Linked DNA regions of Homo sapiens: all the other regions are linked to region 3. The links are contacts of gene promoters, found by promoter capture Hi-C in blood cells and fetal thymus (Javierre and others, 2016). All regions are on one chromosome and are shown on one strand. Each heading gives the region's core, a stretch centred on a gene start or on the middle of the fragment in contact. The rest is flanking DNA. Distances are from core to core; before and after follow the strand shown.

Region 1 (2,700 bases), core at 101-2,600, 390 kb before region 3:
GAAGAATCTATTTCTTGCTTTTTTCAGCTTCTGGAGGCCACTTACATTCTTTGGATCATGGCCACTTCCTCGCATCACTCCAACCTCCTGCTTCTGTTGTTGCATCTCCTACTACTCCTTTTATCACTGCCTGCCTCTTATAAGGCCCTTATGACTGCAGTGGGCCCACCCAAATCACCCAGGATCATCTCCTTCTATCAGTGTCCTTAATCATATCTGTAGAGTCTCTCTGGACATTTAATACATTTACACATTCCGGGAATTAGGACGTGGACATCATTGGTGGTGGGCAGGGGGTATTATTCTACCTACCACACCTGGTCAGAGGTAATTGGTTACAAATGGAAGGTGAGATAGGGGAAGGATTCTAAGATTTCAGAGTTGGTACTTAAAATTATTTTATTTTTTAGAAAAGTACTCGATTATGTGACAAACATAGAAAGTTGCAACAAAGAAATGCTTTCTTGGCTACTAAAGAGATGAACATGTGTTGGCACTATATTTTTATTTAACAATGACAATTCTGCTCCTAGAATAATCAGAGTAAAGCTTCCCCCACCTCTAAAAAATTAACATAAAAATGTCTTAAAAAATATAATATTGTGGCCAGCTAGGTATACAAATCTGTGGGGCTTCATGTCCTGACAGATTCACTAAGCATTCCATCCAGTCTCCTGTGAGGGACCTTTGGCAGGAATTAAAGCCTTTCAAGAGAGACCCTGAGAACCTTCCTCAAAACGTTAATTCAAGTATCATAAATCTACAACATCATTTGTATTCTAGAACATGTCATCCCAATATAAGTTCTAGCATTGTTGTGCCTTCAACATGCTGAGTACAGTGTTTGAGAATCAGTCACTTTCAATGCTTCCCTCTTGGCCAAATGGATAACTTTAGGGAAGTTTCTAGCCTTTCTTTTTGGTGCATGGCTGTATTTTGAGTGCTCAGGATATTGCCATAACCTTTGCTTGGTCTGTTCTTAGCAGAAAAAACTCTAACTCTAACTCTATAGAAAAGGGAGAACATTAAAAAAAAATCAGTTTTCAAAAATCATCCTGATGCTGAATTTAGTTCAACAATTGTTGGGGTGGTTATAATAATTTCAGGCCAGGTGCGGTGGCTCACACCTGTAATTCCAGCACTTTGGAAGGCGGGTGGATCACTTGAGGTGAGTTTGAGACCAGCCTGGCCAACATGGTGAAACCCCAACTCTACTAAAATTATAAAGGCCGGGCGCAGTGCTTCAAGCCTGTAATCCCAGCACTTTGGGAATGTGAGGCGGGTGGATCACCTGAGGTCAGGTGTTCGAGACCAGCCTGGCCAACATGGTGAAACCCCGTCTTTACTAAAAGACAAAAATTAGCGGGGCATGGTTGCATGCGCCTGTAATCCCAGTTACTCGGGAGGCTGAGGCAGGAGAACTGCTTGAACCTGGGAGGCAGAGGTTACAGTGAGCTGAGATTGCGCCACTGCACTCCAGCCTGGGTGACAGAGTAAGACTCCATCTCAAACAAACAAACAAATAAATAAATAAATAAAATAGCAAAAATTAGCAGGGTATGGGGGCACACGCCTATAATCCCAGCTAATTGAGAGGTTGAGGCAGGAGGATCGCTTGAGCCAGGAGGATTGCTTGAGCCCAGGAGGCAGAAGTTGCAGTGAGCCAAGATTGTGCCACTGCACTCCAGCCTGGGTGACAGGGTTAGACTCCATCTCAAAAAAAAAAATAAAAGCAAATTTCAAATAGCCAGTGAAGACTCATGGTTTGAGCCTGATCCGATGGTTAGGACTCACCTAATCGTGGGTACCCCAGATTGCTTGCTCTTTTCTGGTGATGGCACTCTCTTACAGAGTTCACCTGCCTTCAGGCTCAAGGACTTCAAATAAATACTGGAAAACTGGTCTAGAGCTCAAGAGTGACTTATTCTCCCCACACCAAGGACATTTTACTACGTATAATTATGCCTCCCCTCTTCTTCCTTCTTCTTTTTAACTCTAAAATTCTCTTCATTGTCTATTTGAAATTGATTTTAGTTCAGTCAACCTAGTTCCCCTTGTTGAAACATCCCAGTCATCTCCAGCCCTTCAGAGATCTTTGGTTCTGTTACTTCACTGTCCAGTTTTGTTTCCTCCTTTTCTTTTTAAAGCTTGACTTTATTGATGGAAGAAGGACATTTTCTTGTTTTTCAGCATGATGTGAATTGCCATCATGGCAAAGGAGGCCAACCATGTCATAGCTCCTGTCACTGTGTAGGCAAGACCTAAGAAAAGGCTATTACCCCCACACCATGTCAGGGTGGAGAGAACAACTGATTTTTCTCCGTGGAACCTGGTTACTGGGAAGTCTAAGAAGACCTGTTAAGAATCTGACTCAACACTTCACATTTCTAGTATTGCATATACTGAATATATTAGGTTGACACATATAAAATTGCTCTTTTTTATAGGTAAAAAAATGGTTAAATATCTAATCTCATATGCTGCAACTTAATCTTTACCAAGCACTACTCTGTATCTTGCTGGAATGAAAATAAAAACAAGCCTTCCCTCTACATAGTTGTAAGCTACGAAAGAGATTCTGACACAGATCTGAATGACTTATAGACAACTGATAATGAACAAATATATTTAATTTCCTTTGGCAAACCCAAGGAAATTACAATCATACAAACCTAAATTTTTATATATGAATTAGAAGAC
Region 2 (2,700 bases), core at 69-2,568, 270 kb before region 3:
GTGGCTTTTCTGTCCCTTTCTTCTGTGGTACTGAATGACTTCTAGTTGTTTTCTAATCAGCTCAATAGGTTAACTATTTGAGACTGAATAAAATAAAGCAGCCCATGGCAGGTCAAAGACTCTCTACCACTGCCAGAAAGGAAACGCAACTGTTCTATGCTCTTTATGCAGGTTCGCTGCAGAAAGATACATGTTTATTTCATTAAAAGCTATTTTATTACCTGGAGGAAACCAAACATCAAGTTTAGCTCTCTAACACGAATCATATTTTATTCAAATGCAGATGTACTTTTCAACTACAGCAGCCATTTGATTAACTTGTCCAATGACTAAACTCATGACCCTCTATATTAAAAGTGGTGACCTTTATGCTGAAGAATCTAACCCAGAGCTAAGTTATCCATTAAAATGCAACTTGGGAGTATATTACTCTTCATGAAAATGTAACCACCTCTTTTCCTGCTAGTCGAGGTCTCCAGAGAAACACAGAGTGAATAAAAGACATATGTAACTTCTTTTATTTGGCCACTTAGGAGGGGGTCATCATCCACGTGCATAGCTCTGATTCCCAGATGACAGACAAAAATGACAGAACACTGCAGTGGCTGAAGAGTACTTCAGAAACATTTCAGTTGGAGGAAAGGCACTTCATTCCCTCATGAGAGACGGAAAGCCTGTAAGCTTGAGGATGTTATTTGCCTGCATCTTAGAGCTATGCTGAGATGAAGGATGAAAGAGGAACACAGAGGGGTCTTGGTTGATAAGAGAGGAAGAAATGGGGATATTTTTGCTTCTGAGATAAAAAAGCAAAGGAACTTTGGATTGATGTATGGTTTTGAGAAATTACAAGCACTTGGAGAAAGCATAGTCCCAAATGGGCAACATTTGTATAAAAAGACCCTGCTATTATAGTAAAAGTCAGTCATTTTTCCCTACATGAGGAAGCAGAAAGAAATGAATTCCTTAAGGAGAAGGGAAGATATAAAACATCAGTCCTCTTAGTGTGAAACATTTTAACTAGTTTATAATCACACTATCTACAATAATAAGCTGTTCTAAAATATTAATGTTCTCTTCTGGCAAACTTCAGGTTGGTTGTACGGTATAATCACCTTAGATACTTTTAAAACAATTCCATATCCAGGGATTCTAATTCAACTGATCAGGACTGTTTCTCTTGTGATTCTATTGAGCAGCCTGGGCTGGAAACCACCACTTTAGGGGATACGGCTTAGTTTAGGAGATTCAGCAGAGATCTGTACCATACATACATATTTAAAAGTGCGCCACAATTCAACAAATGACAGAAAAATCTGAAGCTAAAGACATGGACAGAGAATGAGTTTCTGCATTATAAGATAATTTTTGGATTCATTACATTACCTTTACATAGTGGCTACTTCATTTATAATTCCCTAACTTGATGCAAGGCTGGGACTGATTGGGGATAGGTATTTTAGCAACCAAATTCCACCTACGCAAGTGAAAAAGAAGCTACAGCTCTGAGATGATAATATGAACCAAGTGAAAACTATGATTTGATTTATAAATATTCAGTTTTCGGAACACAAATAAGTGGAAAAAGTGAGGTTGATCTGTAATATCCATATCCTCATGTTTATACGTAAGTGACAATTTCTCTAACTTATGGCTTTACGGTCAAATCCCTTGCATAGACATAGTAAAACCACATCAGTTCCTCTTTATAAAGCTCTGTTTAAGAGACACGGCTATCATAAGGTTCTTACTTCCCATAACACTGTATTGTTTTCCCGTTTTTAGTGGCTGTTCCTTTTAAACAAATCTTTGGAGCACTGAAAGGCTTTATTCATTTTCTTTGAGTTTTTCTATATATCTGAAATCTGAAAGTAAGCCCAAAATGTGAATTTGCAAGCAGCCTTGATCAAAATTCATATTTAGGTCCAAATTAACTAGTTTGATGGACCTAAGCTTATAAATATTTGCATATTTTTATGTGGGTAGCATGAAAAACCCCTCTACTCAATGGGCTAGTGAAAAATAGCAGGTAGGAGACTAAAAGGGACTTTTAAAATGAGCCACTCCAAAGGCTGCTATTAAAGTTATTTAAACATGTACATGAAATAACAATACGGAGCTTTTGCTTAACTGGGGCACAAATGCATAATCTAGAAGTCTAGACATGCAGCAAATGACATGGGTCTCATGGCCCGAGGCTTTATTTTAAAAATTGAGCTCCTTTCTGCTGGCATGGGGGTAGCAGAAATTTTAATACAAGCATTATTATTATTTTATGAAAGGAAGAAATAACACAAATTAACTATAACGGAGAAATATTCTTTGTAATTCAGCTGTCAACTTCAGCATACATAAATTTTATTTTGATAATTATGCTCACAACCTTAGTACTTCTGACCAAAATCTACTATAGAACTTCCAATGGCAAGAATCACGCCAGGCACCGTGGCTCATGCCTTAATACTAGCACTTTGGGAGGCCAAGGTGGGAGGACTGCTTGAGCCCAGAAGTTTGAAACCAGCCTGGGCAACATAGGGAGACCCCCTTCTCTAAACAAACAAACAAACAAAGAAATGGTGATGTTAAAAATTTTTTTTATGAAGTTGAAAACACAATTTAGTTAAGACTGATTATTCTAACACTTTAAAAAATATGACACTAAATGTAGGCCTCATATTTCAAACAAGATAAAGAAGCATGCAC
Region 3 (2,870 bases), core at 204-2,703:
TTCAATCATATCATAAAATAGAGCTTTTTAACACCTGAGTTGGGAGGGGTAGTTATTAAAGTAAATGTGGAACACCACAGGGCTGCAAAAGAGTCAGGAAGTTTAATCAAGGAAATGTTGTATTGGCTACCTTTCTAAAAATGACATCTGCTTAGTTTGTACCTGAAGGCTTGACCTTCCGGAAACAATGCAACAAATGAAGTTGGTTATTTTTAATGGATATTTCACAACTAGTATTTCAAGATTGTTTGCAGCAAATAGGTATCAAGTGTCTAACATGTGCAGGGCCCTGTGGATGACAGAAGTATGAATCTGACTTTGGCCCTGTCTTCTCTTGTAGAGAAAAGAGGCAGACCTTGAGGAGTGATAAAAACCAACCAACCAATAATTGCATGGTAGGTGTGATGGAACTTAAAAAGTTCAAGGCTAGCCTGACATGGGGGGTCACTTAACGCTACTCTACTTGGGGATGAAATGCCCACTGCATCAGGAGTTGGTAAACACAGCAGAGCATAGTAGAAACTATTCAAATTGTGTTAACTGAATTCTAGTATTGTTTCTGAAAGGAGCTAGCTTTGTGAACTTGTCAAGTTACTTGACATCTTTAGGTTATGTTTCTCATCTGTAAAATAAGTGAGTTCAAAGGATGATCTCTATTTAAGCCTCCTTCCAGTTCTACTATTCCAAATTCCATGATAATGATGATGACCACAAGAAATACAGTAACTTATATTTACCACACATTATATGTCAAGCACTATGCTAAAGTGCATTACTGTACTAACTTCACTTAATCTTCACAACTTTACGAAATGGACATTATTGTTATCATTATTTTACAGATGAGGAAAAGGAGGCTAAACAGTATCAGAATACTGGAGTCGTGATTTGAATGGAGGGAGTCTGAAGCAGCAACCCCTGCTTCTGACCTCAGTCTGAATTGAAAGCAGTTCATGGGTCACCCTTAACCATCATACAAAGTTGCCTCTCTTCACAAAAACTGTCTTATCCATTCTCAAGAAATAAGGAAAAGAGAAAGCTTGTGGAAAGGATCCTTCCTGGCTGGCAGACAGATCTGAGTTAATGTCACAGCTGTCTGTTTCACGTGTTAAAGAATCTCTTGCACCATTTTCCCCGAGATGCTTGCGCGCTCCCAAGGCGGTGCACACCCCTGCTGGGCAAACACCGCGATCGCCAGAAGCGACCAGGGCTGAGGCGCACGGAAGGGCTCCGGGAGAGGCCCCGTAGGAGCGCGGGCACAGAGTGGGTACCTGGGCTGCTGCCTGCTCCAGTCGGCTGGTTCTCCCACCACTCGTCTCCGAGATCGTCTGCCATTTCAGCTCAGGTCTCGACGTGGGCAGAACATCACGGGTAGGCGACCAGCTGCGGAGAATCACGTTGTCTCAAAGCCAGGCGGCCGGCGTAGCTACACGCGGAGCTCCCGCTAGACACTGTCGCCTCCGCCCCGCGGCGATGACGTCACACCTCTGCCCCGCCTCTCCGGCAGCCGCTCCCAGACTCGTCGCAGTTTCCACACAGGCGCCGACAGGCAGAAGCAGTTTGGAAACGCAACATAAATCCCCCCAAAGCTTAAAGACAAAAAGGAACATAAGACGAAAGGGATTGTCATCGTTTTTGATAATGCATTTTAAAAAATTTTGTTTACGTGTTACGTTTCCCGATAAGATTGTGTCGAAAGTGTGAGACACCATGTGAAGACGATTTTTCTCCGCTCAGTTTCAAAGAACTTGCGCAGCGGGAGAAGACCCAAACATGTGCGTGTGTTTTCGCTTGTGCGTCAGTGTTTCAGAGTTTATGTGTTTGTACAGTTTGCTCTTAGAAAACATGCGCAAGGATCCATGACCATGAATGTCGGGCCTTTGTGGTAAATGTAGTTCTGCTATTTATGCAATATGAGTAAAGAAAATGTAATTGGCCTGGAAAGGCTCGCCCACAGAAAGACGCAAGTGGCTCGAAGACCCGCAAGTTGTTTTCCTCATACTCCCTCGGTTGTGTGTCCCACCCCCTATTTGGGAAACGAAGTAATAAGGGAGTCCATTGCTTCGTAACTATAGGTAAGAGACCCGCAGTGCCTCTTGTCTCAGTCCCAACGTGATTTGGCAGGGAGGGACTAGGAAAACCCGCTGGGCGCCAAGTGCTGGGGCTAGCTGTGAAGTAATTGTGGACGGTATTTTTCAGGACATCAAACACAGACGTAAAAATTATACAAAATGTAGTAAAAGCACGCAACGTGCCTGGTACTATGCATGGAATAGTAAGATGAGTCCATTCAGATGTTAGCCTACAGTAGTGGAAATTCAATTTGTAGGAATAAAGGGCTAGACTTCTAATAGGATACATCCTCGGAAATGACAAGACAGGGAAACTTAATCTGATGAGGCTAGGATTAGCCATATGTGGAAAATTACCCCGTGTGCACCCAACTCATAGATGTTTTATAAATGCATTACTGCCTAGACTTTGTCCGCACACTCTAAATGCCCCAAAAGGGAAGATATTATGTATAAATATGGCAAATGTAAAATAATCTATAAAGATCAAAAGTAATATGGCTTTTGTGAAGAAATGTAGATGACGAGATTTTCGTGATTAATAGATTTTTGAAAAAGATAAGAAATGCCAGTGTGGAAGAGGAGTTGCTATGGCTAATAAACATGAAAAGAATTCAGTCTGATTATTAATCTGGGAAATACAAAAAAAACACCACAGCGAGACCGTTTTTCAGGCAATAAATCACAAAATTAAGAAGTATGGGCCGGGCGCGGTGGCTCAAGCCTGTAATCCCAACGCTTTGGGAGGCCGAGGTGGGTGAATCACCTGAGGTCAAGAATTCCAGACCAGCCTGGCCA
Region 4 (2,700 bases), core at 17-2,516, 480 kb before region 3:
ATCATTAGAAAGAATGTACTTAAATCAAAAGATCTCTTAGAAACTGTTACGTGAAAAATCAAGTGGCAAAACAAAAAATATGTAAACAGATATTAAAAGTCTGGAAGATTACGTAAGCTGATAATATTCTTTAAAAATTTTTAAAAATTCAAGCCGGGCATGGTGACTCACGCCTGTAATCCCTGCACTTTGGGAGGCCAAGGTGGGCAGATCACTTGAAGCTGGGAGTTTGAGACCAGCCTGGCCAACATGAACCCCCTCCTCTACTAAAAGTAAAAAAAATTAGCCAGGCATGGTGGCGCACACCTGCAGTCCCAGTTACTCGGGAGGCTGAGGCTAGGGAATCGCCAGAACCTGGGAGGCTGAGGTTGCAGTGAGCCAAGATCATAACACTGTACTCCAGCCTGAGTGGCAGAGTAGAAACTCTGTCTCAAAAAAAAAAAAAAAAAAAATTAATTCAAGTATTCATGAATCACTTGAGTAAATTTTTAAAATAGGAAGGAGAGAGGAATCAAGGAAGAGAAAGGCACAGAGTTCACCTACAGAATATGGATGAGCTAAGATGGCCTTTCTCACAATATCTGTTAGTTCTTCCTCAATATTACCTAGGCCCTTTCACACACCCTTTCAGTTCAGCATCAAATTTTTCAGACGAGTTGGGAAGGGGAAAGGTAGACTTAACATTTAGCTAAGAGGTTTCTCATCCCATTCCTGTGTTCCCCATCCCTGAGGCTTTAATGATCCCAGAATGGCTTAAATGATGTTAGCCTCAATTCTACCAACAGCTCTATACATCTCTGACAATTATTTACCATTCTTCAAATTAAATGACCTAGGATAGTAGTTTTAATAACTAAGTACTTATATGCCAGATACTACCCTTATTAAATATTAGTTTATTATATGCATAAATACTCATGATTAAAAATGGCTCATACTATAAAGCCTACAGAATTCTTACTCAATTACAGTAAGAGCTGATATCCAGAGAGTACTTAGTAGGTGCAGTGCACTATGCTAAGTGCTATACTAGGTAGCTCAAACTAAGTTCAGAATTTACTGACATAAAAATGGTAAGCGATAGTAAGCCATAGTGAGCATTGTTTTCAACTACCCTTTATAATGCCAAAAGGGTATCTGGGCTGGGCGTGGTGGCTCACGCCTATAATCCCAACACTTTGGGAGGCTGAGGCAGGGGGATCACCTGAGGTCAGGAGTTCGAGACCAGCCTGGCCAACATGGTGAAAGCCCGTCTCTACTAAAAATACAAAAAATTAGCCGGGCCTGGTGGTGGGTGCCTGTAATCCCACCTACTAGGGAGGGTGAGGCAGGAGAATAGCTTGAACCCAGGAGGCAGAGGTTGCAGTGAGCCGAGATCGCACCATTGCACTCCTGCCTGGGCAACAAAAGCGAAACAAACAAACAAACAAACAACAACAAAAACACAAAAGGGTATTTGGGTGAAAAGGAAACCTGACAGCAACACTTTTCTCATAAGGGCAGAGACTCCCTCCTTAAGCAGAAAGAAAAAAATTCCCCAATCTGGGACCTATATATTTATTTATGAACTGAAGGAAAAAAAGTTACTTTAAGAATAATTAATCAGCATTTATACTAACCAGGTCTGAATCTAAGTGGAAAGCAGTTGATAAATGCCCAGCATTATATTGTTCTGCAGGACGGCAATCCACCACAAAGAACCGGACTCCTTCCTAAAACGGAAACAACATTTGACATACAGGAATTTCCCATGAGGTTCACATTGCACAACATAATATTCACAGTTAACCAAATAAAGGGAACAAGTTCATTAAAAAATGGATCTCACATGGAATTGGGAGGACCTAGTTAGCACAGAAAATAACCCGAAGGTCCTAAATACTTTTATTTCTTTTAAACAGTTAAAACATTTTTCTTTTTTAGATGTTGTTCTTTACTGGAAAGTCTTAAAATACATAGAAGGAGAGTGTCTGTTTGAGCTATAAAACTAATTATAATTAATTATAAAACTAATTATAAAACGCTATATAGTTATAAACACAACTCTAGATATGCTATTCTTTTTTGCAAATAAATCTGCAAATTTATCAACAGCTCAATTCACGTAAGAACTAAACATCTATTTCGTGTGGGGGGATGAAGGGAGAATGTTCTGAAATACCAGTTTCAACTAAAGAAGTTCACATGGATCTCTTTAAACTGGATAACATGTTTTCATTTGTTTTTAAATATTAGTTTGAATAAGAAAAAAGTGAGATGCTTGTATTTTGAAAATCCTCAATAACCAGCGCAGATACAGTAAGAAATCCAACTAAGAAAGATCTACCATAAAAGGCTATTTTCCCACGTCCATTCCTTTCCTGCCCTCAACCTTGGAAATACACTACACCTTCCAAATACACACCATGGTTAACTGCTGCACTACTAGTAATAAAGACCATATATTAAAAACATCATTGGTCAAATTGACTTATTAGATTTTCATGAAGAAAATTTCATTTTCACAATTCTCCTTTGCTATAAGTTGTATGGAACTAAACCATGTAATTCAATTAGCTGTAAACTACCAGAAACTGTTAAATGCTAAATTCACCCTTTTAAAAGTATTTTATACAATGCCACATTCAGTTGCTCTACTGAAATATGGAAAAAAGATACGGCGATTTACAAAAACTGGTGTCAAGAATGTCAACAATAATT

The links. The method cuts DNA at HindIII sites, captures the fragments that hold promoters and counts their contacts. A CHiCAGO score of 5 or more calls a contact.
Region 1: a fragment that was not itself captured here is called in contact with the fragment with the promoter of CMSS1 in region 3 in 1 of 17 cell types (activated CD4 T cells); the score reaches 5.1 in activated CD4 T cells.
Region 2: a contact is called between a fragment that was not itself captured here and the fragment with the promoter of CMSS1 in region 3, in 1 of 17 cell types (monocytes). The highest score is 5.1, in monocytes.
Region 4: a fragment that was not itself captured here is called in contact with the fragment with the promoter of CMSS1 in region 3 in 1 of 17 cell types (naive B cells); the score reaches 5.5 in naive B cells.

What each region holds. Positions count from the first base shown.
Region 1 is chr3:100,211,221-100,213,920 of GRCh38, reverse strand. No RefSeq gene overlaps it. Among named protein-coding and RNA genes, the nearest start is that of TBC1D23, 48 kb to the left of the region's middle. The HindIII fragment of the contact is 1,598 bases long and covers 552-2,149 here.
Region 2 is chr3:100,083,605-100,086,304 of GRCh38, reverse strand. The region is part of intron 1 of CMSS1 (cms1 ribosomal small subunit homolog); the gene reads right to left. All of the region lies in intron 1 of FILIP1L (filamin A interacting protein 1 like), which reads left to right. Among named protein-coding and RNA genes, the nearest start is that of FILIP1L, 30 kb to the left of the region's middle. The HindIII fragment of the contact is 1,269 bases long and covers 684-1,952 here.
Region 3 is chr3:99,816,445-99,819,314 of GRCh38, reverse strand. CMSS1 (cms1 ribosomal small subunit homolog) reads right to left here and starts at 1,453. Exons shown (of 10, transcript NM_032359.4): 1 at 1,272-1,453. The coding sequence starts at 1,335. HP09053 (a long non-coding RNA gene) reads left to right here. Exons shown (of 3, transcript NR_110821.1): 2 at 341-395; 3 at 843-2,683. It overlaps LOC105374010 (a long non-coding RNA gene), which reads right to left and starts at 1,453. Exons shown (of 5, transcript NR_189163.1): 1 at 1,272-1,453. RefSeq lists enhancers at 1,187-1,496, 728-1,602 and a silencer at 1,018-1,772. The HindIII fragment of the contact is 550 bases long and covers 1,042-1,591 here.
Region 4 is chr3:100,298,251-100,300,950 of GRCh38, reverse strand. It overlaps TBC1D23 (TBC1 domain family member 23), which reads right to left. Exons shown (of 19, transcript NM_001199198.3): 10 at 1,620-1,712. Among named protein-coding and RNA genes, the nearest start is that of NIT2, 35 kb to the left of the region's middle. The HindIII fragment of the contact is 9,654 bases long and covers 1-2,700 here.